Regions from separate parts of the Homo sapiens genome. Here region 2 is linked to region 1. The links are contacts of gene promoters, found by promoter capture Hi-C in human tissues and cell types (Jung and others, 2019). All regions are on one chromosome and are shown on one strand. The core of a region is centred on a gene start or on the middle of the fragment in contact, and the rest is flanking DNA. Distances in the headings are between cores, read along the strand shown. Region 1 holds the start of NRDE2 (NRDE-2, necessary for RNA interference, domain containing). Region 2 overlaps FOXN3 (forkhead box N3).

Region 1 (4,998 bases), core at 1,505-4,004:
TATTAAAAACAAATTGAAAACCCTTGTTTGTTCTTAAGCTTTTAAGAACTTGGTCAGTTACACACCTGTGATACCCCCACCATAAACAAGAGTCAGAATATTTCCATCAAGCCCAAAACATTCTCCACACCCCTCTGTGGAATATCCCTCTCTTCGTTCCCAGAGCAAGGGAAACACCGATCCACTCTCTGTCACTATATATTAATTTGTATTTTCTAGGATTTTGTATAAAGAGAATAACACAGTAAACACTCTTTGTGCCTGGCTTTTTATACCCAGCATACCAATTTTGAGATTCATTCATGTTGTATGTATCAGTAGTTTGTTCCTATTGTTATTATTATTGTTGAACAGCCATTATTTATACTCATTCTAAGGCTTCTAACTTCTTGTCCAAAAGCTTTTTTCAACTAGGGAGGGTGAGCTTTGCTCATGGTGTCTATTTCGTGAGCTCAGAGCTGCCTCGAAATGGAATCTTCAGCCTCCCTCATGCTCCTGCAATAGGACCCCATTATTCTTATAAAGCTAACCAATTACACTTACAAATATGGCGAGCTTTAGATTCTCTTGGATATCCTGAAACTGCTTAAACCTCATTAAGATTTCAATTTACTGCCGGCCATGGTGGCTCACACCTATAATCCCAGCACTTCGGGGTGCTGAGGCAGATGGTCGAGACTGGAGTGAGCCATGATCGCACCACTGCACTCCAGCCTGGGCGAGAGAGGAGATCTTGTCTCAAAAACAAAACAAACACAAAAAGATTTTAACTTAAAACCAGGAGTCTGTATCAGTTACTTGATTATACACTTTCAGTTGTTCTTATGAGGAGGGTCTCTTGAGCAACATTCTCTTATACATTTGTAAGTACACAATATACCTAGTATACCCAGATTCCTTTGTATTACAGAAACATTATTATTATGGTTTTAATTTCTTAAAACTTCCATATTAATTCTTACTTTTCTGGGGTGGAAAGATAGGAGGCATTGGGATAGACTATTTCCATCCCAGTTACCTGAAGTGATCTGCTAAGAAAGACAAATGCTGCCCCAATTAATTGAGGTAACTTAGAGTCAAAGATTTTGGCAGAACCTGAGATTTAAAGTTGAAGACATACAGGAATTACTGCCCCTATTGTCATACTAAGCTCCTTTTTGTAAGTACTCTGCCAGGGACTTCAAAGCATTAAGGGTGTCTATTTTGGACTCATAGAACCTAATTCTTATGCAGGTCTGCAGACTTCATCAGAGTCCATCCATTCCTTGATTAGATGATTACATTTGCATCTCTGGTTTATAATGTATTTCCTAACTAAAGATCTTTAACTCCCTAGGATCCCAATAAATATATCTTCATTTACCTATCTATTTTCACTTGCAAATATTTCAGTATATATCTCTAATATATAAGAACTTTAAAAAGTAATCTCAGGCTGGGTTGGGGGGTGCTCAGGCACAGGCACCCAGCACTTTGGGAGGCAGAGGGGGGCAGATCGCTTGAGCCCAGGAGTTCGAGACCAGCCTGGGCAACATGGTGAAACCCTGTCTCTATTAAAAAAAAAAAAATTAAGCCAGACATGGTGGTGTATGCCTGTGGTTCCAGCCACTTGGGAGGCTGAGGTGAGGGGATTGCTTGAATCGAGGAGTTCGAAGCTGCAGTGAGCAGAGATCGTACCACTACACTCCAGCCTGGGTGGCAGAAGGAGACCTTGTCTCAAAATAAATAAATAAGGGTCACCTCAGTGACATAAGTACTTTAGTACATCTAACAGAATTCACAAGAATTACTTGTGAATTGCTTGTACTCTGCCTACCTTCTTATTTCTCCATCTATCTTAAAAAGGTCTTTTTACAGTTTGTCCAATCAGAATTATAATGAGGCCACAAATATGTTGTATTTGCTTGATGTGTCTGTAAGATCTTCGTATCTATTACAATCTCCTGCCCTCTTAAAGCCCTTGATATGTTAAGGAAGCACGGTTGTTTTCTATAATTTCCCATATTCTAGATTTGGCTAATTGTTTCTTGGTAGTACAAAGTCTTCTAAGTTGTTCCTTTACTCTCTATATTTCTGGTAGCAAGTGTGATTAGATTTTGGGTGGGAGGAACCGGGGTCAAGAATGCTTCACAGACAGGTATTTCCTAACTATCAAAGACCCTTGAACTTGATGGGACTTTCCATTTTTCCTTGTTCTGGGGTATTTAATATGGTAACCTGATTGAAGTTCGGATATCTCACATGACTTTGAGCCGAACTTGCAGTCGTAATTCACATAATAGCTAACACATATTAAGTGCTTTTCATGGGCCGGACTCAATGCTAGGCCCTTTATAAATATGTTCATTTAATCTTCTCAATATTTTGCAGATAAGGAAAGTAATGCTTAGAGCGTTTAAGTTGACCCAGTTAGCAAGGATGGTGTGAATTTAGGGGTCGAACTGGAATCCCAATTTCCTTAGTCCCTTTCGCGGTCAACAATTCCCTTCTCCGGTTTTCGCAGTTCCGGTTCTCACAGGGTCCCAACCACTAGGAACCCGTCACTCCTCGCTCCGCCCCCCTTGGCCCCGCCCCACCCTGCTTTGCCCTGCCTCTCCCTGCCCCGCCGCGCCCCAGTCCCTTGACGACCCTCCTCTCTGGGCCCCGCCCCTCCCGCTTCGGGGTCAAGCCCCAGAGAGCGCCGCGAAAACCACATTTCCCAGAGTGCACCGCGACGGCAGGGGTCCTCAGACCGGCGCTCGCTCGCCGGCGCCATCCCTATAGAGAAGAACGGAGGTACGGCCTGTGGTCATGGCGCTGTTCCCAGCCTTTGCGGGGCTTAGTGAGGCTCCCGATGGCGGGAGCTCCAGGAAAGGTAAGCACACAAACGAGCCGAAGAAGGCACCTGGGGGGCTTAAGAGGCTGTTTCTCGGGCCCAGGTCTAGACTTTTGCTTTGGATTTGTGTATCCATTTGTATCCCAGAGTTCTCCGCGGCGCTGCAAAGCCTTCTGGGAAAGGCTCAATCCCTCCGAGGTCTGGGGCCCAGAGGCCTGTTCTGGACCAAGGTTGTAGAGTTATGGAGGGGTGGAGAAAGACCAGCAGATGCCCTGGAGCTGGGACTTCTGTACGATGTTGTTAGGTCCTGTTCTTCTTTTCGAGCCTCAGTTACTTCATCTTTAAATTGGGAATAATGATACTCGACATCTCGAGGAAACCCTTGATGCAAATGCAGAATGTTTTTATTACATATTACTTCCTTTCCTGTTATACTTATTTCTGAAATGCTTATTAGATTGGTATTACTTAGCGGCCTAGAGCTAGGGGATTAGTATCCAAAACCTAATCAGTTTCTCTCTGGAGGGGCACAGCACCCAGTGAAAATAACTAACATTTATTCTTGAGGGCCTAGTGTGTATCAGGTTATGGCTTTACACATTTTACTTAAGTCCCAGACATTTCCAGCAGAGCTGCATTGTTCAAAATTGGGGTACATAGTTCATTTAAGAAGTAATTAATCCTGGCCAGGAGCAGTGGCCCACACCTGTAGGTGGAAGGATAGTTTGAGCCCGGGAGTTCATGACCATCATGATCAACATAGCGAGACTCCTGTCTCTTAAAAAAAAAGCCAGGCGTGGTGGTGCACACCTATAGTATCAGCTCCTCAGGAGGCTGAGGTAGGAGGATTGCTTGAGCCCAGAAGTTTGAGGCCGCAGTGAGCCATGATCGTGCCGCTGCATCCTGCCCTGGGGTGGGGGGACCTTGTCTCTAAAAAAAAAAGAAAAAAAAGTAATTCTAAATTATGTGCCATATGTGACAGGGCGCAATTGAGTCTTACCTGTCTGTTATATCCTCTAATATAGTTCCTACACTTTCTGTAACGTTTCTCCTAATTTTTTTTTTTTTTTTTGAGACAGGGTCTCACTCTGTTGCCCAGGCTGGAGTACAGTGGCACTGTCATAACTCACTGCCGCCTCAGACTCCTGGGCTTAACTTCCTGCCTCAGCCTCATGAATAGCTGGAACTACTGGTGTGCACCACCAGGCCTGGCTAATTTTTTTTAATATTTAGTAGAGACGAGGTCTCACTGTGTTGACCAGGCTGGTCTCGAACTCCTGAGCTCAAGCGATTCTCTATCTGAGCCTCCCAAAGTTCTAGGATTACAGGCATGAGCCACTGCGCTTGTCCTATTTCTCATAATTGTGAGTAATTTCTTGTGTAAAATTGTTGTCTTCCCTTACTAGACTGTAATCTCTATCAGGTTGGGCAGTGTTTGTCTATTCATTGTAGCATAGTTAGCCCCTAGCACAGGTCCAAAGTATAATAGGTGTTCAATAAATATTTTCTGGATGTACAGATCGATAGTAGTTACTTAATAATTACGTGTTGCAGGAATGCATGAGTGCACCTAAAAGAAGTGTATAGTACAAGGTGGGATATTACAGATACCATAGGTGAACTGCAGGATTAATTACTTCTTTTTATTTATTTATTTATTTATTTTTTTTTTTGAGACCAAGTCTTGCTCTGTCGCCCAAGCTGGAGTGTAATTGTACGATCTTGGCTCACTGCAGCCTTCGCCTCCTGGGTTCAAGTGATTCTCCTGCCTCAGCCTCCCGAGTAGCTGGGACTACAGGCACTCACCACCATGCCCGGCTAATTTTTGTATTGTTAGTAGAGATGGGGTTTCACTGTTTTGGCCAGGCTGGTCTCGAACTCCTAACTTTAAGTGATTCGCCCACCATAGCCTCCCAAAGTGCTGGGATTACAGTTGTGAGCCACCACACCCAGCCCAGGAATAATTACTTCTAATAGAAGGTTCAAAGAAGGCTTTATGTAGGAACTAATATTTTTTTCTTTTACTTTTTTTTTTTTTTTTTTTGAGGCAGTCTCACTCTGTCACCCAGGCTGGAGTGCAGTGGCACAATCTCAGCTCACTGCAACCTCCGCCTCCTGGCTTCAAGTGATTCTTGTGCCTCAGTCTCCCGAGTAGCTTGGATTACAGGCATGCACCACCACAC
Region 2 (4,998 bases), core at 711-3,210, 1.0 Mb after region 1:
TTAGTCATCTCTCGGATGTCAGCAAAAGCCTCCCTGCCCTTGGCTGCATAACTGTGCCCCCCAACTTGGGTACTTACGTCAACGAGATGTGTGATGCTGCCACCTTTTACACTAACAGGGTCTTAAAGGGCTACAAACATGATTTACACCGTGTGGATTGGGTGAGGTCATATGTGAACATTTGGAGTGAGTTTCAAGCATGAGTCAAGGAGCACCACACCACGGGCCTCACGTGGAGCAGAACAGGTCCGCAGCACCCACATCAGCGCTTTCTGTTCTCTCCTGAGGGCCTGACCTTTCTCCACATCCTCCTCACCTCCTCCAGGGCCCCTCCACTTTTTGAGAATGAAGACACAAAAGAAAAGTCCTCTCCTTCATGCTCAGCTTTATTTGCCCGGTTTAACCAGGGAGAAGCCTAACCCTGCAGAACCAGGGCTCTGGCACATCACTGATGACCAGAAGGCCTATATAAGAATCCCAGCCTGCAGGCTCACGGAGGGCAAAGTACGTCTCCCCACAGAAGCTACATTCCAAGTCCCACATCTCCCAAACCTCATCCTTCCCAGCAACATGCACCCGTGTTCAAGTTGGAAGGAAGTAAATGGAGAGCAGAGTACCAAGAAGACAGGAATGACCTTGTGATTTCAGAGACTGAGCTGAAACAAGTGGCTTACATTTTCAATTGTGAAAAATCAGCTCTCCCGATGAAAGGGAAAGTAAACTCCATTCCAGTGGAAAACTGTAAGAAGTTTGGTCTGGTCTTTGACAGTTTGGTGGGCATTGGGGAAATGACCAACTCCAAGTACATTCAAATCCAGGTAATGGGGAGAGTACCAGCAATTTCCACTAATAAGACAGAAGGTTGCCACACATACCTAACTCGGGGAAGATGCATTAGACTGTGAGATTGTGAGCATCATATCATCCAAAATGAATATACTTATTCGTCAGGGTGGTAATGACAGAGAATTTCCTGTCCCTGAGCAGTTCAAGACAGCATGGGATGGATCCAAGTTGGTCAGTGAACCCCCTCACCTGAGTCCCTCCATCAAACAAATAAAAAAGTAGCAGTAAAGAACTGGAAGTTGCAGAAGCACCTTCCACTTTAGTTTTGGCCTCCGACAATTCTGTGCTATAGACACAGCATCGTTTCTGGCACGACTTTGTGGGCATTTTGAAGTACTTAACATTTCTTCATGATTTGCCTGTGTGTGTGCGATTTTAGTTCCACGTGGTGACTTGTGAACATTATGGATTTAAAGGGAAAAAAAAGAAGTCTGTTCCCCTCATATCACAAACATAGTAACTGATAGGTAAAAATACTGCATGATTCAATTTTCCACGTATGTTCAATTGCTTGTTGAAAAATAAACTAAGATGTACATTTTTATCTTTTAGACAATTTCAATATGATGTAGTAGTAATGTGCCCTGAGAAATGTACAGTTTTTTTCTTATCGTGAGCACATGTTCACCTTTGGCAGTGTGGATATGCTGTCAGCAGGAGTACGTATTTCCGCCCACGCTTTTAAAAGATGTAAGAACATTTCATATTAAGGACCAAATTCAGGTTCTTTGTCCTTGAAAGACCTATATTCTTTATAGTTACTAAAAACCAAAAGTATAAATTTGAATTATTCATCTTATATGTATTTCTACCGTGTCATTTGAAAACTTACTTTTCTGCATAAGAGATTTTTGTGTCAACAGATTGATGGGAGGAAACAGTGCTTTTGCTATGTAGTACCTCGCAGTGTTGCCCAAAAATCAAGCTCAGTGTCTGTTTTCCAATTTTGAACATGTTAAATGTCAGATGTCTTCTAAATGGTGTCTTTAATGTTTTATTATAGTCTAATTTTTTCTTTTCTGCCTGCCAGACTTGCTAACCAGTCGCAAAAATGAACATGAGAAAAGCCATGGATGTATTACTTCTCCTAAAGCCTAAGGAATTATTTGTTAGTTTGGCTTTCTGCTCTGATTTTGTAGTCTTGCTAATACATGCTTTTTCTTTTCTTTTCTTTTTCTTTTCTTTTTTTTTTTTTTTTGAGACAGAATTTCACTCTGTCACCCAGGCTGGAGTACAGTGGCATGATCTCGTCCCACTGCAACCTCTGCCTCCTGGGTTCAAGCGATTCTTGTGCCTAAGCCTCCTGAGTAGCTAGGGTTATAGGCGCCCACCACCATGCCCAACAAATTTTTGTATTTTTAGTACAGACAGGATTTCGCCATGTTGGTCAGGCTGGTCTCGAACTCCTGGCCTCAAGGGATCCGCCCACTTGCGCCTCCCAACTGGGATTACAGGTGTGAGCCACCACACCCGGCCCCATGTTTTTTTCAATGTTAAGAGAAATTATGATAGTCCTTTGTATCTTTTCAGTACGTAGTGTTGAAAAATCTGCAACTTCTTGGATGACATTTAATGAATTATAGTATAATGCTTACGGACCCAGTGCAAGCATATATATATATATATATATATATATATATATATATATATATATAGAGAGAGAGAGAGAGAGAGAGAGAGAGAGAGAGAGAGAGAGAGAGAGAGAGAGAAAGAGAGTGCCTATTACAGCCTTTGGAGTATGTCGTTTCCATTTTTAAAATATCTTCTATATCTGTGTAGTATTTGGATTATTAATGCTCACATACCAAGGTTTTGCTATAAAAGTTTTGTTCGTATAATGTTGATAGTAAACATCATTTTTCAACTGTAAACTTATTCTGAAATAAAGTAAAATGATAATTGTTTAAAAGTAAAATAAAATAGCTCGATAGATATGGTGCCAGAGCAGCTGCCACCTGTCAGATTCTCATGGGTCCTGGTGGTATTGGGCATACAAGAACTATGTGCAGGCTGATACCTTTGAAATCAGTTGAGTCTCCAGTGTCAACATTTGGCTAAGTTTACAGAGCAATTCCATTTCTTATCTTGATTGGTGCATTGCCCTCTGAGTAATCTTGCCACACACTCAGTTATAGTGTTGGTGGGCCTGGTTGGTTGTGGTCTGATCACTTCAGTCATGCCTCCTCAGCAATTGTCATCCTCTGAAATGGGCCACTCTTGGTAGGTTTCTACCTGGTCTCTTTCTGTCTCTTGATCGCGTGCCCATTTTGGATCTTTGCAGGATTCTGCATGGAGCTATATATATATATATTTTTTTTTGAGACAGGGTCTTGCTCTGTTGCCCAGGCTGGAGTGCAGTGGTGTGATCAAGGCTCACTGCAGCTTTGGAGCTCCTGGGCTCAAGCGATCCACCCACCTCAGCCTCCTGAGTAGCTGAGACCACAGGCACATGCCACCACACTGGGCTGATTTTGTTTATTTTTTGTAGAATAAAAAAATGTTTTATTTTTAACGTTTCCCAGGCTGGTCTCAAACTCCTGGGCTCAAGTGATCTTCCTGCCTAGACCTCCCAAAGTGCTGAGGTTACAGGGGTGAGCCAACAGTTACTTTTTTTTTTTTTTTTTTTTTTTAGCATTCTTTAGAGTAAGTGACATCTGTGAAGTTGCTTCTTGGATATTTAGTAAGTGTTGCTACTTTAGACTGAGAAATATTTGCAATTAGAACATCTCCAAGAATCCTTAAAGAAAAAAGGAAAAGTGCAGTTACCTCATCTGTCACAGGAATGGAAAAACGGGCCAAGTTGGGAGAGTTAAGGATGTCTAGGAGGAAGTGCTGGTGCCCACCTGACAATGGCCACAATGTTGCTGTGTGGCCTTGAGTGTGTCAGTTAACTCTGAACTGGGGTTTGCTTGCAATCAAGACTACCACTGGGGCTGGGCGTGGCTCACACCTGTAATCCCAGCACTCTGGGAGGCCAAGGCAGGAGGATCACTTGAGGTCAGGAGTTCGAGACAAGCCTGGCCAATGGCGAAACTGTGTCTCTACTAAAATTACAAAAAGTAGCCAGGCATGGTGGTGCATGCCTGTAATCACAGCTACTCGGGAGGCTAAGGCAGGAGAATTGCTTGAACCCGGGAGGCAGAGGTTGAAGTGAGCCCAGATCACACCACTGCACTCCAGTCTGAACGACAGAGCAAGACTCTGTCTCAAAAACAAAAACAACTAAAAGAAAAACCACCTTTGGGATTTTTGCAGTCTAGAAAGCAATTTTTTTCCCCCATCATCTCATTTTATTCTCACACATTGCCCCCGGCTTGCAGGCATGGAATTGAGACTTTGACAAGTTAAAAGACTTTCAGTCTGTGTTTTAAACAAAATTTCTGAGTCCAAATCCCACGGTCTCTCCACTTCACCCTGGATTGGACCCTGTGGCCACAGAGATCCCTTTTAATTGCCGGGACACTCAAGCTTCTTTGGAAGGTTAGAAAAGTGTCAAGAGTGTCCCCGAGAATCTGAACTTTCATCTGTGTTCTTAGTGATGCTTCTCAAACGGTGAGTGGTATTTTGTGAAGCTTCCCACACACGTCTCTGTCCAGCCTGCTCTGGTTGCCGTGTTCCAAATGCCAGCGAGTGACATCCTTCACTCAGAGAGCCCCTGTTACATTGTGGCGTAGGTCACATTTGGTTTTCTATTATTTCCTGGTGATTAATCCCCAGTTATAAGGCAAAACAATGGAATTTCAAGGATTTTTTGTGGTGGGTGATTCTCCCTTTGTTACAACTGCGTTGACTGTTTTATTCCTGGGGAAATTGCAGTCTGGTGGTAGATGTCACCCATCCGAAGGGATTGCCATCACAGTCCATCTCCAGCGCTAAGAGTATGATAGGACTCTGTGCTCGGTTGCTTAAGAGTAGTGGGTAAGCTCTGGCCTCCATGAGTGCTAAATCAGGGTGGGCTGGTCTTGCTACACCCACTTTTTCCCCCCACCCCATCCCCGTTGGTTTGGGCTTTCTGCTTTGTCGTGTGCTGTGGACCATTCTGGCAGAAAGCTGACCATGGGGGACATTCAGATATTCTTCCTTTCTTCCCGCCCCAAGCACTTTAGGCTTTCATTCATTTCTTCAGAGTCCTTCTTATCATCTCAATCTCTC

The links. The method cuts DNA at HindIII sites, captures the fragments that hold promoters and counts their contacts. A contact is called where the count stands out against the background at its distance.
Region 2: a fragment that was not itself captured here is called in contact with the fragment with the promoter of NRDE2 in region 1 in 1 of the 25 tissues and cell types used here (lymphoblastoid cells).

Annotation. Positions count from the first base shown.
Region 1 is chr14:90,329,697-90,334,694 of GRCh38, reverse strand. It overlaps NRDE2 (NRDE-2, necessary for RNA interference, domain containing), which reads left to right and starts at 2,754. Exons shown (of 14, transcript NM_017970.4): 1 at 2,754-2,854. The coding sequence starts at 2,791. RefSeq lists a silencer at 2,521-2,670 and an enhancer at 2,821-3,000. The HindIII fragment of the contact is 6,388 bases long and covers 220-4,998 here.
Region 2 is chr14:89,286,228-89,291,225 of GRCh38, reverse strand. The region is part of intron 3 of FOXN3 (forkhead box N3); the gene reads left to right. It also overlaps the pseudogene CAP2P1. Among named protein-coding and RNA genes, the nearest start is that of FOXN3-AS3, 62 kb to the left of the region's middle. The HindIII fragment of the contact is 8,255 bases long and covers 1-4,998 here.